Linked DNA regions of Homo sapiens: regions 1, 2, 3, 4, 5 and 6 are each linked to region 7. Evidence: promoter capture Hi-C in 16 types of primary human blood cells and fetal thymus (Javierre and others, 2016). All regions are on one chromosome and are shown on one strand. Each heading gives the region's core, a stretch centred on a gene start or on the middle of the fragment in contact. The rest is flanking DNA. Distances are from core to core; before and after follow the strand shown. Region 1 overlaps XPO4 (exportin 4). Region 2 holds the start of LOC107984553 (a long non-coding RNA gene). Region 3 has its middle 13 kb from the start of LINC00367. Region 4 overlaps XPO4 (exportin 4). Region 5 holds the start of GJA3 (gap junction protein alpha 3). Region 6 has its middle 8.7 kb from the start of XPO4. Region 7 holds the start of CRYL1 (crystallin lambda 1).

Region 1 (2,700 bases), core at 1-2,500, 260 kb after region 7:
GAAATGGTAGAGGTGGCAAGGCATGGTGGCTCACACCTGTAATCCTAGGCACTTTGGGAGGCCGAGGCGAGTGGATTGCTTAAGTTCAGGAGTTCGATACAAGCCTGGGCAACATGGTGAAACTCCGTCTCTACAAAAAATAAGCCAGGTGTGGTGGTGCACACCTGTAGTCCCAGCTACTTGGGGAGCTGAGGCGGGAGGATTGCTTGAGGCCAGGAGGCCGAGGCAGGAGTTAGCAGTAATTGCACCACTGCACTCCAGCCTGGGTAATAATAAAGTGAGACCCTGTCTCAGAAAAAAAAAAAAAGCGAGATAGTAGAGCCTCTGGGGCCAGGCAGCAAGTATCATACTGGCCATTCCTGAAACCTGCTCTTTCCTGCAGTGTGTAAATATGTTAAAAGAGAGGGAGAGAGAGAAATAAAGGAAGAGAAGGAAGGAAGGAAGAAAGGAAGGGAGGAAGAGACAAGAGGGTGGAAGGGAACGGGGGAGGAAAGGAGGGAGGGAGGGAGGGAGAAAGAAAGAAAGAGGAGGGAGGAAGGAAGGAAGAAAGGAAAGAAAAGAAAAATGAAAGAAAAAGATAGAAAAAAGAAAAGAAAAAGAGAGGAAGGAAGGAAGGAAGGAAGGAAGGAAGGAAGGAAGGATCAGACAAGACGACTACCTTGCTAGTAAGCAACAAGTAAGACAAATGACAGAGAAAGGGCACAGATTTGAGAGCAGGTACCACCTGCAGGAAGTGGCAGCCTAGGGCAGAGAGCAAGAAATGAAGCCCCAGGGCACCTTCAGCTTAGGGCACAGATGTTACGGGAAGTCTAGAGAAAGGAGGTCTTTAAATAGTATGGAAGACCTCCTCTAAACCCTTTTTTAAAGATGGAAATAAAACGCCAAAGCTTCTTGGCCATGCTGGGAGGTATATATATATATACGTGTGTGTGTATATATATATATATATATATGTACCTTACATATATATGTGTGTATATATATGCATGGGAGAGGAAAAGGGGAAACAGAGGCAGCAAACTGTTCAATACGGTCCTTTTCATAAATTTCACAGGCACCTATTCGATCAGAAGTGGGGAGACAGGTAAGCTAGCCTAACTCTTCTATTAACCCCATTATCAGTGATGCTTCAGAATCTTTAAAAGATCAACAAAATGAAATAATATACTGTTTTCTATAATATGCAATAAAATACTGTCTTCCATACTGTCTGAAGGCAGACTCTTCCTTGTCTGCCATCCTGTCTCCCTTACAAAAAACCATGAGTTCTTCACACACCCATTATGTATTCCTCATTCCTAGCACAGTTGTTTAAGGACAGGCTTTGGGGCAGTGACCATTGCAAAGGATGGTTCATAATGGTGGAGGACAAAAAATAAATGCTTTGAACTGACAAACAGCTGTCAGATAAACACAAACTGACATGTGAAAGCTAATAAAGAAGCTAAGAAATACTTCCTCACTGAAACAGAACTGAAGCACTGAGTCACAGATCCTATAAGGGGGGATTAATGACCCACCATCTATCTCAACAATCTCTTTGCAAAATAGAATGAGAAGAGTCCCCTGAAAAGAGGCATGTCCAGTACCTGGTGCAAACACACCAACGTGTAGAAAGCTTCGCCAGCCGCAGTGGTCATCTCTGTGTTGTGCTTTTGCAAAACCAGCATATCAAAAACCAGCTGAAATTACATAAGACTTCTAAATAAAAACATAGGATGATCATATATCCTCCAGTCCCTCCCCAGTCCAAAAAAGAAGAAGAGAGGGTTGGTTGTTATTCTATTTATTAAATCAATCTGAAATTTTCCTTAATGTTTTAAAAAAAATACCTTACAGATATTGCTACTTGCTGTGGTATCTGAATAATCAACAATATCAAATTCCCTCAATGTGTACCACATCAATTTCCAAGAACACAAAAAATAGAGGATGAGAATGTGTCCATGAAGAGCTGATCTCCAGAAAAAAACAGTGAACAGGAAGTCATGGTTTCCTTGCCCCCGAAAGAATGGAAGCATTTCCTCATTTGAATGCAGAATTATGTGCACCGACCACACTTTTGAAAGTAGCTGATTTTCTGACCTACCGCACAGACATCTTACCTTAAGAAAGTGCCGTGTTGCTAGAAAAAGTGGTGAGTCTGTTTCTTGTGCTTTTGCACACTGTTCAGCTAACGGTGTCAAGGCCTCCAGGCAAAGCTGGCAAACCTCCGAACTCATTCTGATCATGAAGGTCAAAGAACAAACTAGATTGGATATATTCGATTTATAAAAGATAAAAAAATTATAGCTAGTATTAAATGGATGAGTGTTTCTAGAAATGAATACAGATACACAAGTAGACTCATGGGCAATATCTTCACTGAGTTATATAAGGAAAGAAGATTTCCAGTGTTTTTCAGATTGCCTATAAGGTTTTTGGGTTTGAGCCTGGTGATGTATAGCTTGTTTCAGTTTACGATACATACAACTTATTAAAAAGTCATATTATTCTCTACAATCAGAGCTAAGACCAGAGACCCAGCTCAACATTACTAATGGGACCCTGATGAAGGGGTAACTTCTGGAACCAGGGACTGAATGCCTCAGAGATCTATGAAAGGAGGACAGGACGAGGCAAACTAACGAAAGAAACACAGAAATAGAGCAGTTACAGAGGTGACAGTTTTTTGTTTTTTTGTTTTTTTTTTTTTTTGAG
Region 2 (2,700 bases), core at 82-2,581, 340 kb before region 7:
ACCATGCCTGGCTAACTTTTGTATTTTTTTAGTAGAGAAGGGGTTTCACCATGTTGGCCAGGCTGGTCTCAAACCCCTAACCTCAAGTGATCCATCCACCTCGGCCTCCCAAAATGCTGGGATTACAGGCGTGAGCCACCACACCTGGCCAGACCTAGAAGGATTTCTAAGACATATTACTAAATGGGAAACAATCATAGAAAAAATGATGTAAGAAATGCAAACCAACATGGTCACGTATGTGTTGTGTGTCTATGTATATAAGTATGAGTATATTCAATTGCACAGGGGAAAAGTCTGGAAGGATATAATCCAGATGTTAACACTGAAACTTCCAAGCAGGGGAGTGAAATGAGACTTTCACTTTTGACTTCGTATACTCCTGTATTATTTAAGTGAAAATGTATTTATATATTCTATAATTACAAAAATCACATTGGTTGCCTTTTCATTTTGAAATGAGCAAAAGTGACAGGGCTGTTAAAAAGCTAAGTCACTTGAGCAATAACGTGATGTCCAGAACAGTGGTTCCATGGCTCAGCCATGTCGGGGGCTGCACTGAGGACAGGGGGCCATCTGCCTTCTAGGAGGACACTGTGGACTGGAATATTGTTCCTGCCTTGAGGAGGAGTCTCCCAGCACAGTTACTGCTGCTTGACTGTCAGAGCATGCGTTTTCTTAGGGAAGTTGAAGGCAGCCTGTATCTAGTAAGGTGGTATGCAGTAGTTGCTTAATGCTGAATGTGTGAAGGAATGTGGGGCTGTGGAGCAGGAGGATAAAGTCTGAACTTGGACCTGTTGTTCTCAGCTATTCGAAGCTTTCTCAAGTGGAAAATAGACTGACTTTGGGTCCATCAGAGGGCAGAACAAATGCTGGAGAGCAGATGCTAGAATTCCGTCTTAAAACCATGAATCCTTACAGCGGCCTGCGTGGCCTGCGCCATCTGTCCCAGCCACGCCCTCCTTGGCCCCATCTCCCCCTTTCTCGCCCTGACTCTTTGGCATCCTGGCCTTTCCGTCTCACTGGGATGCTTCCCTAAGAGACTCGTGTGGTTTGCTGCCCTGTATCCTCCGGATCTCCTGACCACCCTATGTTAGTTACATTGCAATTTCCCGTTTCCCTCATGACGTCTTATTTTCCTCCATTTAAATTACCTGCAGCAGGTACCACCTACAGGGATCTGTTGAGAGTCGGCCTCCTTCAATGTGAAGCCTGATGTTTTGTTCTGTTCACAGCTATGCCCCCAGCCCCTAACAGTTGGTGGCAGTCAGTAAATATTGCCTGGGAAAACGAATCATTAGCCATGTGCAGAAATGGAACAGCGTCTCACCAAGTTGGGGTTGCCCCTGGACCCTGTGAACACTGGGGCAGCTGGGGTGTTCCTACTGTGCTTGTTACCGGCTTCAGGAATCAAATGCACTAGAGAATTGTAGAAGTGCGGTCCACATCCTCTGTGTGGTAGGACCAGCTGCTGTTGGCCTCTGAGCAGGATCTCTTACCTCTCTGAGCAGTGCCTTCCTGTTGCCCTCAGCAAGAATAACACTAACAGCCTAGGACTTCAGAGCACTGCTGCGAGGTGCAAATGAGGTGATATGGGAAAAGCATTTGGTGAGATGTATGGAAAGTGTAGAGACCCTGACCAGATGAGTCAATGGCCTTCTTCGTTACTCTGTTGACCTTTCTTTAATTACAGAGTCGCATAGCTGTCACCACCTTATCCTTTTTTGCTGCTATATTTGCCCCCAGCCATTCCTCTCCCGGCTTATGTGGCTAGACTCACCTGCCTGTGCTGCAGTTACTCCAGGCTTTGTGTAAATGTGCATTTTTTTCCAGCCCCCAGTTTATCAAGCTTTGCTTGAGTCACTTGTATCTGAAATACCATCTGTCACTCTTCCAGGTTGGGATCTGTCTAGTGGAAAACAGATGACAGTCATATGTTACTTAGTGCTTTACTATGTGGAGAACGTTTACATAAATTATCTTATTTCATTGCCACTAAGCCGGGGAAAGATTCAGGAAACCCATTTTAAGATGAGGACACTGAGGTCAGGGTAAGTGAGTGAGCTTTTACCCACCTCTCAGCTGCTCTCTAGTTGTCAAAGACCAACCCGTGGGGGTGGCTCAGGCCCGACCCCTGCAGCATATTCCTTGGGGCCTCCCAAGTGGGCCCGATCTGCTCACCCCAGCTGTGACTGTCTTTTGACAGGAGGAGGGAGCAGCGAGGCTGCACCCACTGCTCATAAAAAGCAGAGCTTGTCCACGCCGAGGGCTCGGCTGGGTGGGAGGCCGCTTCCACAAGGCTTTTTCTTGCTCCATACAAAGTGCAGACTGATGCTTTGAGATATAGTCAGGATTATCATTTTCAGAGCTCAAGCTCTAATTTCCAGGCATGTGACCAGACCTCTCTATCCATTCCTACAAGTGGTCGAGAGTAGCCCATAATTATTTTGGCTTGGTCTTTTAATAGCTTGAGAGTAATAATCTACATAGCTTGTAGAAGTGAATGTACTTATTTTAAAAGTTCTGTGTTTTTTGATGTTGTTGTTGTTTGGGACAGGATCTTGCTGTCGCCTAGGCTGGAGTGCAGTGGCACAATCTCAGCTCACTGCAGCATGGACCTCCCAGGTTCAAGCAATCTTCCCACCTCAGCCTCCTGAGTAGCTGAGACTACAGGCACATGTTACCACGCCTGCCTGGCTA
Region 3 (2,700 bases), core at 189-2,688, 410 kb after region 7:
ATGTTCTACAATCAAAGTACCCCTTTCCAGTGGACTGTGCAGAGGGGAAATAAACAAACAAACAAAACCCAAACTACCCTTTCCCATTGCGTAGCCAGTCCACTGAAGACATTTTGTTGCAGATTCTTTAACCTTCAATGCAATTTGCACTAGTGCCTTATCATCTGCAGTAGGGGATGGAGGTGTCAGCTTCACTTTTCCGTCTTTCCTGACATTTCTGGTATTGGAGAAAGAAAAAAAAAAACCATGGAAAGGGAAATAATAGGCACTGGGGGACTCCAAAGGGGGAGAGGATGGGAGGGATTTCATGTTGAAAAATGACCTATTGCATAGAAGATTCATTATTTTAGTGATGGGTGCACTAGAAACTCAAACCTCACCATTCCACGTTATATCCATGTAACAAACATGCACATGTATGCCCTGAATAATGATAATAAGAGCATGGGAGACAGAGGTCTTATGTGACTGCCTGCCAACTGCACATCCAAGATCCAGACTTGAAGCTTATAAATATGTATAAAATGTTGGGCTCAGGAGTGGTGGCTCACGCCTATAATCTCAGCACTTTGGGAGGTGAAGGCAAGCGGATCACTTGAGGCCAGGAGTTGGAGGCCAGCCCAGGCAATGTAGCAAGAGCCTGTCTCTACAAAACCTAAAAAAAATTAGCTGGACTTTATGGCATGCACCTGTAGTCCCCAGCTACTGGGGAGGCTGAGGCAAGAGGATCACTTGAGCCTGGGAGTTTGAGGTTACAGTGAGCTATGACTGTGCCACCACACTCCAGCCTAGGCAAGAGAGTGAAAAAGGGCCGGGCGTGGTGGCTCACACCTGTAATCCCAGCACTTTGGGAGGCCGAGGCAGGTGGATCACGAGGTCAGGAGATCGAGACCATCCTGGCTAACATGGTGAAACCCCGTCTCTACTAAAAATACAAAAAATTAGCCGGGCGTGGTGGAGGGCACCTGTAGTCCCAGCTACTCAGGAGGCTGAGGCAGAAGAATGGTGTGAACCTGGGATGAGGAGCTTGCGGTGAGCCGAGATCGTGCCACTGCACTCCAGCCTGGGCAACAGAGCAAGACTCTTGTCTAAAAAAAAATAGAGAGAGTGAAAAAAATAGCCAGGTACAGTGGCTCATGCCTGTAATTTCAGCACTTTGGGAGGCCGAGGCAGGAGAATCACTTGAGGCTAGGAGGTGGAGGCCACATTGACCTATGATCGCATCACTGCACTACAGCATGGGCAGCAGAGTGATACCTTGTCTCAAAAAAAAAAAAAAAAAAAAAAAAAAAGGCCGGGCATGGTGGCTCACACCTGTAATCCCAGCATTTTGGGAGGCTGAGGCGGAAGGATCATTTGAGGTTAGGAGTTCGAAACCAGCCTGGCCAACATGGTGAAACCCTATTTCTACTAAAAATACAAAAAAAAAATTACCCAGGCGTGGTGGTGGGTGCCTGTAATCCCAGCTACTTGGGAGGCTGAGGCAGGAGAATTGCTTGAGCCCGGGAGGCAGAGGTTGCAGTTAGCTGAGATCGCACAACCATTGCACTCCAGCCTGGGTGACAGAGCAAGACTTAGTCTCAAAAAAATGTTGGACACCTTTGAGTATTAACATAGATTATCCAGGTGAAGGGCACTGAGCTTAAACTTCATCACCTCATGGTAAGTTCCCTGTGCAAAGCTGGCAGCAAGGTTCTTGTGAGTGTCCCTGCCTCTGTGGCTAATGCTAACTGACATGGGCTATGTGAGGCGACCCCTCAAATACTGGAACTTCCATAGGTGCATGTGGAGGGGCTTTTGGGAGGGTTCTGGGAGGAGTGGATCTGCCCGACATGGGTAAGCTGCCTCCATTCCCACTGTCTTCACGGTCACTCAACTGACACGCTCTTACTCACTCCCTGTTCTTCATCTCTTCCAAGGTTTCTTCCCCTGCTTGGGGGACACAGTTGTCCTAATCAACAGCTGAGGCTGAGCCCAAGTCCAACCAGGAGACAGAAGAGTTTCTGTTGGCTGGGGAGGTGAGAAGGCTGGAGAGCTGATTGCGGATCTTGCCTTTCTCGGAAAGCCCAGAGGGGTCTCTAAGGTTCCCAGACACTTCACATTTTTTGTCCAGGGCTTTTGGTTTCAGCTGCAATTCTGGAACATGGGAAAAAAGAAAATCCACATAACATTCTGTTGTACATTTATTCAAAATACAGAAAAGAAATATTTAAAGAATAAAATAAAGATAACATTCACAAGAGGAACCATGAAATTAACCCTCTCCTGGGAGTATACACTGGAAATCAATTTGGAAATATATAACAAGAGCATTAAAAATGTTCTTAAGAATATAATTAAAGATGCAGAAAAAGATTATGTACTCATGATAAAGCTTATACAAGGAAAAGAAAAAGATCATGTATAAAGATATGCAATATGATGTTATTTACAAGGTATATTTACATTTTAAATTATTTAAAATAGGAAATAACCTAAATTTCCAATAACAAGTAAATGGTTAATTAATTTGGGCTATATCATCATAATGGAATATCATATAGCCATTCAAAGCCATTGTTTTATGAGTTTTAGTGACAGGGAAAATGATTACTATAGGTGTCTGTTCACTGTGTTTTCAAAGTGTCCTAAATTTTCTTTTTTTTTTTTTTTTTGAGACGGAGTCTCGATCTGTTGCCCAGGCTGGAGTGCAGTGGCGTG
Region 4 (2,700 bases), core at 156-2,655, 340 kb after region 7:
GAGCGAATAAGCACTTTCATTGTTAATGATCACTGAAACATTCCTAACTATTTGTTTTTACATCCAAGCCTTTTTCTGCCCTTTGGAGGTGGGTGGGTGTTGGATGTGAGGGGGCAGTTATAGAAGATGAATATTCAAAATTTTCAAGACACAAAAGTTTCTTAATTCTTTTTCTTAGACCTCTGCATGGTATTAAATGATGATCTCTAAATGACTACTCCCATAAGAAGCTGACTCTAAGAATGGAGGAATAAAAAAAAAAAAAGCCAAATTCCTAATTTAAAAGAAGAAATTTTCCTAAACTAATAAATTACCCTTTCTCATAAAAACCATTATTAGCTGTCATAAATTTAACTTATACATAGTAGAAATATGCAAGAGATGCTAGAAGGTACTCTCGAAGCCTACCAGTATGAAATTAGAACTTCACAAATACATATGAGCTTTACTTTCGCTCTCTGTTACAAAGATGCCTGAAACTACAGGGTTTTCATGAAGAACTCACAATTCATCTAGCATTTTTTTTTTTTTTTTGAGATGGAGTTTTGCTCTTGTTACTGAGACTAGAATGCAATGGCGCAATCTCGGCTCACCACAACCTCTGCCTCCCGGGTTCAAGTGATTCTCCTGCCTCAGCCTCCCGAGTAGCTGGGAATACAGGCATGTGCCACCACACCGGCTAATTTTGTATTTTTAGTAGAGACAGGGTTTTTCCATGTTGGTCAGGTTGGTCTCAAACTCCCAACCTCAAGTGATCCACCCACCTCAGCCTCCCAAAGTGCTGGGATTACAGGTGTGAGCCACCACACCCAGCCTCATCTAGAATTTCTAAACTACTTCTGGGAAGATCTGCCACTGACTAGGACACTGTCCAGAGAATAAATTATTTTAGGTCACTTTAGCAAAATGCTTTCATCTGCTACCACAGTAACTTTCTTTAATAATAATTATGTAAATAAAATTCATTTGAATTTTGTCAGCCATCTGAAACTAAACAGAAACATGAAGACAAAAGTTAAAGTTAATAATACAGGAAAAGCACTACATTCTGACCAAAAAGTTTTTTTAAAAAAGAAAAAACCCCGGTAGTGAAGCCACAGATATACAGCTACTACAATCAACTCTCTGGCCTTAAGTATTTCTGTCCAAAGCACAGGCAATATAAGCTCCAAGTCTACTCTTTGACTCAGTGATACCTATGCCCACCAACTAATGACAAAAAGTCTCAGATGGAAGATGATTTATTAATTCCCAGTGACTGACAGCACTACTAAGGAAACAATTTTCCAGAGGTGTAAAAGTTTACTAGTTTAACTGACTTTTTGGTGGTTTATTATTTTGTTTTGTTTTGGCACTTGTGAGATCAGAAGTGAAAGAAATCCATTTCTCCCTGAGAAAGAGTAAAAGAATGCCACAAAGTTAGCTCCAGAAGAAGTAAGCCAATCCCTCACAGTTCTTGATTATTTCTTTAACAAGAACAGAACTCACTTGTTTTTTTAAAGGAACATTTGATCCTAAAAAATTTAAATTACTAAGTGCCAAAGACTTCTGAAGTGAAGAAGTCTAAAAGTGCTCTTCTGACAAAATGCACAAGCATGCCACATGCATGCACAGATACACCACACACACACACAGAAAAGAGCAAAGAAAATAAAAACTAGAATGAAAACAAAAGGATAAGAAGAGAAAGAAATGAGGAAAAATGAGCAACATATAAAACTCAAGTTAGAAGTGAGAAGGAAGAATTTTAAGAGGCCAGAAAAGGGAAGCATCAAAGAAAGTCTCCCCTTTAGTAGAATATATTACCCAGACCTTCTATAAAAATGACACATAATCCCTAAACAAGAATGTGAAAATTCTGAACTGCGATTGACTGCCACTTGTATGAGAAGTCTTCTTAGAGGAATTTACCCTTCTGTGCTGGTGGCAACTGAATAAGGAGTGAAAAGATTTTCTGTGAAGTTTAGATGTAAACATTAATGTAACACAGGGCTTTGCAGTACATTAATGATTATGCTTGTAATACATGCACTCCACCTTTTAAATAGTCAGTGTCTCAAAACCCAAACTCATTTTAAAAGCATGGCCAGAACTAGCAATACTACTCTTTAGAAAATTTTATCAGGAAAACAAAAGTATTCCAAAACAAGCTCAATCATAACAAAGCAACAATACTTCATAAAATATACATATTCTAAAAAGGAAAGAATGGTATAAACAAATACACTCTAATAAAATACTTGTAAGTTAGATCAACTATTTCCCAACTAGTGTACAATGACACTGAATTCCAATAGAAAGTCAGATGAAACACTGATGGAATCCTAGTCAATGTCGTTAAGGCATATGCCATGAAAACCAGACTCAAATTATTTTAGGTTAATAGTTTAACACAACGGTTTTCTAAATCTATTAATGCTGAACAATTTCAAGGCAGTAAGGATGAATTAATGCTTCCTTAAACTCTTTATGCCGTTTAGTTTTGCTTCCTTTAACATTGAGTTAAATATCCTCCACAGGTATATGTTAAATCTTCTTAGTGCCAGAAACGAATCCACACAACTATAAAAGCTGACCACTGAAATAAGTAAATTAATTAAAATGGCTTCAGTGAGAATTTAAAAGGTAGTTGTTGAACCTGTTCCTCTGCTAAGACCTAACTCCTAAATGAGACAGAGCCACCTTCACCACTGCTGCTAG
Region 5 (2,700 bases), core at 121-2,620, 360 kb before region 7:
AAGAAACAGTACTGTCTGATTTGTTAGAGTAGTACCGTTTCGTGAATTACTTTCCACTACAGCAACACATGCATTGCCCTTATGAGATGCTTATCTCGATATGAACCAAACTGCTGAGCAGGTGGAATCTGTGCCAAACTAGCTGATGTTTACTTTGAACACACTGATATTCGGAAAATAAATCCCTCTTTTTTCCTCTTTAATCTTTTAATGTTTGTCTTGCACATGGATGGACCGCCAGTGAAGTGATGCGCACATCATAAATCACCATGGTTTTTAATTCCTGGGTGATGAGACCCATAATTCGCTTGTCAGCTGTTTGTATAGAATCATTTTTAAATGGCATGTTTTGGAGACATCTTGATAAAATAAAAACTGGAGTTCTAAAGTTGCAGTCACATATTCACGAACCGAGAACTCTACATGGTAGGATGAATTTTGCTCACTAGTGTGGAGTCGGCAACAAAGCAAATGCAGCCGCGTCACTGCCGTTTGTTTTCTCAAGTCTCCTACGGGAAGGGGCTCGGACAGTGCTTTTCCACTCCTCTGCAAATTCCTTATAGTTGAACACATCATAACAAACATACAGGTCGAGAAATCTGGTCGTGGCATTAATAGCTACAGTGTTTCTTAAAAATAAAAAGTTTTAAAAAGTTTCTGAAAAAAATGTAGGCGAGCCAACCTTGTTTCTAAACAATCCCAACAGGACTTTTAGGAGCACGGCGATGCTGAATGCCCGTGGACGGCTGGGTGCGCGCCGTTAGCTGGCGCGGTGACATCTGCTTAGAGTTTTCAAGCATTTCAGCATCGCTAGGAGCCCTACAGCCTGACGGTCCGGGACAGCCCGGCTTCCTCCACCCGAGGGGGAAAACAACCCCAGGAAAACAACTTAAACTCGGCCTTGGACTGTCCATCAAGGGAAGCCAAACGAGGCGCTGCTCTCCAGACCTCCAGGAGCAAAGGAGGAAGATCAATTATTCCAAAAGTTTCTCACAAATTTCCCGAGCTCCCCACAACTTTTTGAAGAATCCTGAAAGAATCCTAGGGGGCTGGGAGCCGCACACGTGCCGGGGCTCGGCTTCCCAGCTCGGCAGTCTCAGCCCGCTGGGCTCGCCCGGCAGCTCCGCTGCGCCGCCGACCCGCCCGTCCCCGCCCCGCGCTGCCCTCGGCCCCTGTGCCTGGCCTCCGGGGCGCCCGGCCCGCCTTACCCCGCTCTGCCGCGGCGGCGACCCGGGTGCGTTCCTCCGGAGCAGGGCTCCCGGCCGCTCTGAAAAGAATTCCTTTCACACGTGCGGTGCTGCTTCACGCGTGCGCCCCGCGCCAGGGCCCGACCTCCCCGCCCTGATCGCCATCCCTGCAGCCCCAGTGTGCGCTGCGCCCGACGCCCCCAAGCTGCAGCTCAGGACGCCGCGCCACGCCCCCGCCGCCTCCGAACAGCCCCGCCCCGCGCGCTTCCCAGCACGCACACCTACCGCCCCCGCATCCCTACCCTGTACGCGCAGCCACAGCACTCGCCCGCGTCCGCATTCCACACCCTACCCCGCGCGCACGTCCATGCCTAGCGCCTGCATCCCCATCCCGCACCTGCGCGGGCCCTGGGGATGTGGACGCGGGGGCTCTTCCCTGCCGCCTACGCACTCCGGGGCATGCCCGCGCGGGACGTGAGAGGAGAGCCGAGGGCTGTTGGGGCGGGCCCGACCCGCTTGCGGGGCGCCCACCGCACGCAGATGCGCCAGCCCGCGCCCCGCTCGCGCCTGTCCTGGGCTTCGCAGGCCCGGCGAGGTAGCTGCTCTCCGGGCGCTCCCACGGTCGGAGGCGCGTGGGCGTCGGGCACCTAGGTCTCGCCCGCCTGCAGCCGCCTGGGGACGCGGGTTCCGGACGGCTGGCGCGGGGCGGGGCGGGGACCACCGAGCAGGAAGTCCCCGCGGAAGCGCCGCCGGGCACAGCGTGGGTGCTGTCGAGGAGTGGCGCCCGGGCGGGGCGGGAGGTTATAAATAGCGGCCGCCATCCTGCTTCTCTTCAGACACACTTAATTTAGCCGGCAGGCACACGGATGCTTATTTTTAAAAAAAGAACTTGTTTTATTGCGCTCGAGGTGACCGGGAAGGTGTCCCCGCGGGTCACTCGCTCCATCTGGTCCTGGAGACGAGATGCCAGGGCGAGGCCTAACCTGCCTGCTGGCGCCCAACGAAGATTTTAACGTTTTCTGTTCCCTTCGGGGTGGTTTTACCACGCTTGAGAGGGACGCCTACCGCGGAAGGCCGCGGACCGAGGGCGGCATCGCGTCCTTGTCTGCTGTCTGGGCACAGCCTAGAGAGGCCGCGGGTCCCCTCCCCGTCCCCCAAGGTCTGGAGTGGGGTTTGACCAGCCTGGGATATTAACAAATATCGGTGGACTGCATTTCGGTGATCATTCCACAAGCTGAAATGGCTTCAAAATCACCTTTATGAGTAATAAGTTTATTCCAGGAATGTGGCAAAATGCAAGTCTGATAGTTTTCGTGTCTTCATGGAGCAGCTTCCGTCGGCTGCCTTCGTTAGCGTTTAGATCTACTCGGATTAGCAGTTGGCTTGCCCTGAAAAATGCGTTTGTTCTGCTGAGATCTGAATTTAAAGTTATCCCAAGGAGGAAAAACTAAGCTCCTAAAGGCGCATCTAAAATATCTTCTCCCTTTGGGAACTTTGCGGTGTATGTATGGAG
Region 6 (2,700 bases), core at 173-2,672, 390 kb after region 7:
CGGAGTCTCGTTCTGTTGCCCAGGCTGGAGTGCAGTGGCGCGATCTCGGCTTACTACAAGCTCCACCTCCCAGGTTCACGCCATTCTCCTGCCTGAGCCTCCTGAGTAGCTGGGCCTACAGGCACCCGCCACCATGTCCAGTTAATTTTTTGTATTTTTAGTAGAGATGGGGTTTCACCATGTTAGCCAGGATGGTCTTGATCTCTGACCTCGTGATCTGCCTGCCTCTGCCTCCCAAAGTGCTGGGATTACAGGCGCGAGCCACCGCACCCGGTGGAAATGGGATTTGAAATCACACAATTTCTTTTCTAATCATGGTGAAATAAAACTAGAAATTAATGGCATAAGGAAAATGGAAAATTAGTACATATGTGGAAATTAAACAACACACTGTAACTTTTTTTTCTATTTTTTCCCCTTTTTTTTGCTTTTTTTTTATTTTTTATTTTTTTTTTATTGGGCAGTCCCTGGCCGGGCATGGTGGCTCACACCTGTAATCCCAGCACTTTGGGAGGCCGAGATGGGCAGATCACTTGAGGTCAGGAGTTTGAGACCAGCCTGGCCAACATGGTGAAAACTCATCTCTACTAAAAATACAAAAAAAGTTAGCTGGGCACGTTGGCGCGGGCCTGTAGTCCCAGCTACTCCAGAGGCTGAGGCAGGAGAATCGCTTGAACCCGGGAGGCAGAGGTTGCAGTGAGCTGAGATCGCACCACTGCACTCTAGCCTGGGCAACAGGGCAAGACTCCATCTCAAAAAAAAAAAAAAAGAAAAAACTTGGGCAGCCCCCAAACAAGAATAGACTCTGAGAGACTCCCAAATGACACACTTTTAAACAACCAAAGAGTCAAAGAAGAAATCACAAGGGAAATTAGAAAATATCCTGAGATAAATCAAAATAAAAACACAACATACCAAAAGTTATGGGATGCAGCAAAAGCAATACTAAGAGGAAATTTATTTATAAATGTTGGGAGCCGAAAAGACCAAAGGGATCGTGACCAACTCAGCATTCCACTGGAGGCTATATGATCAAACAGCCAACTGTTTATCATGAATGCAGGATGTGGGCAGACTCAGCGACTGTGCCTACCGCCAGAAGGTTTGCTGAGGGCAATCACTCCCTGGTGCTGTGCTCATTGAGGTTATCTACTGGGACATCTAGAGCTTATTGTTTGAAGAATGCAGTCTTGCAAGCCAGCTGTAAATCAAGCTGCTGACCAACCACTGCCTCCTCCCTGTGTCCTTTACTCAATAAAATGCGAAGGGCTCTAAAGCTCAGGGCCCTTGTTCACTAGAAGCAAGGACCGCCTCCTCCCAACCCCTTCTTCCAAATATACTCTTTTGCCTTTATCTTTATTCCCAAGTTCGTCATCCTTTGTTCAGTCCAACAGGGATAGGGTCCACAGCAACAACAAACACATTTAAAAAGAAGAAAGTTGTCAAGTCAACAACCTAACATTATACCTTAAGGAACTAGAAGAAGAAGAACAAACTAAACCTAAAGCTAGCAGAAGGAAAAAAATAAACATTAAGCAGAGATAAATGAAATCGAGAATGGGAACCAATAGAGAGAATCAATAAAACCAAGAATTTGTTCTTTGAAAGGATCAACAAAATTGACAAACTTAACTAGATTAAGAATAAAAAAGAGATAGGCTGGGTGGGCGTGGTGGCTCATGTCCGTAATCCGAGCACTTTGGTAGGCTGAGGCAGGAGTTTGAGACCAGCCTGACCAACATAGTGGCCAAATCCCATTTCTACCGAAAATACAAAATTAGCTGGGTGTGGTGGCAGGTGCCTGTAGTCCCAGCTACTCGGGAGGCTGAGGTGGGAGAATCGCTTGGACTCGGGAGGCAGAGGTTACAGTGAGCCGAGACTGCGACATTGCACTCCAGCCTGGGTGACAGAGTGAGACACCATCTCAAAAAAATAAATAAATAAAAATAAAAGAGAGAACCCCGCTAGGCATGGTGGCGCACAGCTGTAATCCCAGCAGTTTGGGAGGCCAAGGTGAGAAGATTGCTTGAGCCCAGGAGTTAGAGATCAGCCTGAGCAACATGGTGAAATCCCATCTCTACAAAAAATACAAAATTTAGCCAGGCATGCTGATGTGTGCCTGTAGTTCCAGCTACTGAAGAGGCTGAGGCAGGAGAATCGCTTGAGCCCAGGAGGCAGAGGTTGCAGTGATCTGAGATCATGCTACTGTACTCAAGCCTGAGTGACACAGCAAGACCTTGTGTCAAAAAAAAAAAAAAAAAAAAAAAAAAAGAAGGCTGGGCCTGGTGGCTCACGCCTGTAATCCCAGCACTTTGGGAGGCCAAGGCAGCTGGCTCACGAGGTCAGGAGATCGAGACCATCCTGGCTAACATGGTGAAACCCCGACTCTACTAAAAATACAAAAAAATTAGCCAGGTGCAGTGTTGGGCACCTGTAGTCCCAGCTACTCGGGAGGCTGAGGCAGGAGAATGGCGTGAACCCAGGAGGCAGAGCTTGCAGTGAGCCAAGATCATGCCACTGTACTGGAGCCTGGGAGACAGAATGAGACTCTGTCTCAAAAAAAAAAGAAAGAAAGAAAGGAGAGGCTGAGTGCAGTGGCTCATGCCTATAATCCTAGCACTTTGGGAGGCCGATGCGGGCAGATCACTTGAGGTCAGGTGTTCAAGACCAGCCTGGCCAAAATGGTGAAACCCCGTCTGT
Region 7 (2,700 bases), core at 104-2,603:
AGTAGCTGGGACTACAGGCATGTGCCACTACGCCCGGCTAATTTTGTATTTTTAGTAGAGACGGAGTTTCTCCATATTGGTCAGGCTGGTCTCGAACTCCCGACCTCAGATGATCCGCCTGCCTCGGCCTCCCAACGTGCTGGGATTACAGGGGTGAGCCACCGCGCGCGGCCCAAAGTGCACTTTTTAATATGCCTTCACTATTCAACCACGGGCACTCATGGGCCAGAAAGAACAAAGGCACAGTTAACTCCACTGCTCTGGAGAAAAGAAAGCTGACAACAAGGAATCTGATGCCTTCCTTCAGTGGGAAGGAAACACCCTGACATTGGAAGTGGTCTCCACACCGGGTTGTACACTGATGGGGGGCGGAGTCGGGGGCAGGCCAACACCTCAACAGCAGTCACCAAAAAGGTGCTTTTAACTATCAATAGCAAGTATTAACATGTTTATAGATTGCTGCTAACAGCTGGCCAAAGAAAGGTACATACAAATGCCCCTTTTTAAAAAACAAAAATAGCAAGGATTGTAACCGTAGGGGTGGGGGGCGGGGTGGGGGAAGCACACACTAAAAATCAGTTTGGGCAGAATTTAAGCTGTTAAATGGACACACTTAGCAAACTCTCTGGGCTCCATCGGCCCCCACCTCCCCTCTGGAAACATCGCCTCGCCCAGGAATTAGGACTGCGTGTATGTTCGCCTAACACCTGCTGCGGCCTCCAGCGACATCGTCGCCGACAGGACTGCGCTGGCACCCTCCCTGCTGGGCTAGTCCTGTCTCCGTCACTAAACGCCTGTGACCTTAGGTAAACTGCTTAGTCTCAGTATTCTCATTCGTAAAATGGGGATGAGAACACAGTCGTCGCAGGATCGCAGCCAGAATTCGTTTCATTCAACACGGTGCCTGGCACTTCTATGTGGACCTGCGGGCAGACGCGGCGACATTCAACAGAGTCCAGGAACCGCAGGCCCCGCGGCCTGGGCGGTCAACCTCGGAACCTCCTGCAACGCTGGCTCCCGGGAAGCAGACCCAACTCCGCGGGGCGCCTCCACCTGCCAAGCCCCTCCAGCCGCGCCTCTCCCCGAGCCCGCCAGCGCCGTAGGGGCCGCAGGGCGCAGGGCTTCGGAGGACCGGAGGCCGGGGCGGGGACAGCGACCCGGCGCCCACCCCGAGGGCCCCACGCGAGGGCACCACGTCCCCGGCGTCTCCCCGGGCTCCAGGGGCAGCAGCGCGGCTCGGAGCCCTTTACCTGCCAACGATCACCACGCAGCCGGCCGCGGAGGACGCCATGGTTGGGCCGGGGACGCGGCGCCGCGGGCGCTGGGACCAGGCGCCGGCGGAGCTGCGAGCTCTGGGCTCCGGGGAGGGCGGGTCCCGCGCCCATTGGCTGCGCGCGCGGACCGGGAGGGCGGGGAGGGCCGCTTGGTCCCTGAGTGGGGTGCGCGCCGCGGGCCCGAGACACCGGGAGACACACGGCGCGCCGACCCTCGTGGGCAGGGGCAGGACCAGCGCGGGGGCACGTCGGGGGGTGGAAAGCGGGAAGACCACGCGCTTGTGACTGTCAGCATTCACCGTGAAGTCCGTGTCTATAGGAGGGGACACGGGCAGGCTGGCACGGGCTCTAGCGCTAAAGCACCCTAGAGAAACTGTCAGAGAATGTCCCCTTTGCTAATTCGTCTCTGAAAGACGCCTGCCGCTGCCGCCAACTGCGAACTGGGCGCAGGGACTGCGACAGCAGTGAAAGAGAACACCTGATGCGTTCATCTGCGCTACGGAAGGACACGTCTGAATTCCTCCACGGAGCACACTCTGCACTCGGTTTATGTATCAGAAAAAGGAAATGCCCTCGTGCCCTGACTCCTGGCCTTCTTGGAGCCCGGAACAGACCAAGAGGAAGGGGCATCACACATTGCCTGACAGTGGTGTGCGTCCACACAGCACAAGCTGAACGGGAAATGACACAGTCATTAGACAGAGGAGACAGTACTCAAGCTGGAACCGCAGCCAACACTGAGATGATAAAAGGAAGTCTTCCTTTGTTTCCCCTGAGTCAGGAACGTGGAAAGAGAAATCTCAGGGGAGGGGTTAGGTTTTTTTGTTTTGTTTTGTTTTTTAAAGAACAGTTTCACAAATTATCGATAAATATTTGTAAAGTATTCAACCTCAAGAGAAATGAAAAGTAACACAAGGAAGATAAGTCATCTCTCACTCATCAGATTGGCTAAGTCACATGGATTGATTATATTCCCATATCCGTAATGGAGTGTTTCGGACATGCAACTTACACACAGTAGAAGGCAAGCTTAAATGTTGAGGACTTTTTGGAGGGAATGTTACAGTACATTGTTGAGACAGCCGCTAGCCTGAGCAACCGCGCCTGCTCTGGCTGAGAATACAAGGCTCCAAAGCTTCCATCTTCTGATGGAGCAGTTTCTGTAGTCAGTTACACAGGCAGCCAATATAATAATCAAGGCACCCAGGGAGTGAGCATCCTGTGACTGCTCACTACCGGAGGCTATGGGGGCAGCAGACTGGCTTGTTTGCTGCTCCCTGCAAAGTCATGCCTGAAATCCCAGCGCTTTGGGAAGCTGAGTAGTAAATAATAGCTTGAGGCCAGGAGTTCAAGACCAGCCTGGGCAACAAAGCGAGACCCCTGTCTCTACCAAAAAATTAAAAAACTTATCCAGGCTGGTGCCGCC

The links. The method cuts DNA at HindIII sites, captures the fragments that hold promoters and counts their contacts. A CHiCAGO score of 5 or more calls a contact.
Region 1: a contact is called between a fragment that was not itself captured here and the fragment with the promoter of CRYL1 in region 7, in 2 of 17 cell types (naive B cells and M2 macrophages). The highest score is 6.0, in naive B cells.
Region 2: a contact is called between a fragment that was not itself captured here and the fragment with the promoter of CRYL1 in region 7, in 4 of 17 cell types (M0 macrophages, M1 macrophages, naive CD4 T cells and 1 more). The highest score is 9.0, in M0 macrophages.
Region 3: a contact is called between a fragment that was not itself captured here and the fragment with the promoter of CRYL1 in region 7, in 2 of 17 cell types (endothelial precursors and total CD8 T cells). The highest score is 8.3, in endothelial precursors.
Region 4: a fragment that was not itself captured here is called in contact with the fragment with the promoter of CRYL1 in region 7 in 5 of 17 cell types (endothelial precursors, megakaryocytes, erythroblasts and 2 more); the score reaches 8.6 in endothelial precursors.
Region 5: a contact is called between the fragment with the promoter of GJA3 here and the fragment with the promoter of CRYL1 in region 7, in 7 of 17 cell types (M0 macrophages, M2 macrophages, naive CD8 T cells and 4 more). The highest score is 12.5, in M0 macrophages.
Region 6: a contact is called between a fragment that was not itself captured here and the fragment with the promoter of CRYL1 in region 7, in 3 of 17 cell types (endothelial precursors, naive CD8 T cells and erythroblasts). The highest score is 10.1, in endothelial precursors.

Annotation. Positions count from the first base shown.
Region 1 is chr13:20,785,376-20,788,075 of GRCh38, forward strand. It overlaps XPO4 (exportin 4), which reads right to left. Exons shown (of 23, transcript NM_022459.5): 21 at 2,106-2,223; 22 at 1,590-1,682. Among named protein-coding and RNA genes, the nearest start is that of EEF1AKMT1, 13 kb to the left of the region's middle. The HindIII fragment of the contact is 731 bases long and covers 886-1,616 here.
Region 2 is chr13:20,183,672-20,186,371 of GRCh38, forward strand. It overlaps LOC107984553 (a long non-coding RNA gene), which reads right to left and starts at 2,520. Exons shown (of 3, transcript XR_001749956.2): 1 at 1,781-2,520. The HindIII fragment of the contact is 1,032 bases long and covers 816-1,847 here.
Region 3 is chr13:20,935,009-20,937,708 of GRCh38, forward strand. No RefSeq gene overlaps it. Among named protein-coding and RNA genes, the nearest start is that of LINC00367, 13 kb to the right of the region's middle. The HindIII fragment of the contact is 1,868 bases long and covers 505-2,372 here.
Region 4 is chr13:20,864,622-20,867,321 of GRCh38, forward strand. All of the region lies in intron 2 of XPO4 (exportin 4), which reads right to left. Among named protein-coding and RNA genes, the nearest start is that of XPO4, 37 kb to the right of the region's middle. The HindIII fragment of the contact is 5,438 bases long and covers 1-2,700 here.
Region 5 is chr13:20,159,682-20,162,381 of GRCh38, forward strand. It overlaps GJA3 (gap junction protein alpha 3), which reads right to left and starts at 1,371. Exons shown (of 2, transcript NM_021954.4): 1 at 1,209-1,371. RefSeq lists silencers at 1,102-1,191, 1,352-1,431, 1,662-2,021. The HindIII fragment of the contact is 22,819 bases long and covers 1-2,700 here.
Region 6 is chr13:20,910,096-20,912,795 of GRCh38, forward strand. No RefSeq gene overlaps it. Among named protein-coding and RNA genes, the nearest start is that of XPO4, 8.7 kb to the left of the region's middle. The HindIII fragment of the contact is 3,898 bases long and covers 1-2,700 here.
Region 7 is chr13:20,524,504-20,527,203 of GRCh38, forward strand. CRYL1 (crystallin lambda 1) reads right to left here and starts at 1,354. Exons shown (of 8, transcript NM_015974.3): 1 at 1,251-1,354. The coding sequence starts at 1,291. RefSeq lists a silencer at 1,030-1,579 and an enhancer at 1,760-1,869. The HindIII fragment of the contact is 5,179 bases long and covers 1-2,301 here.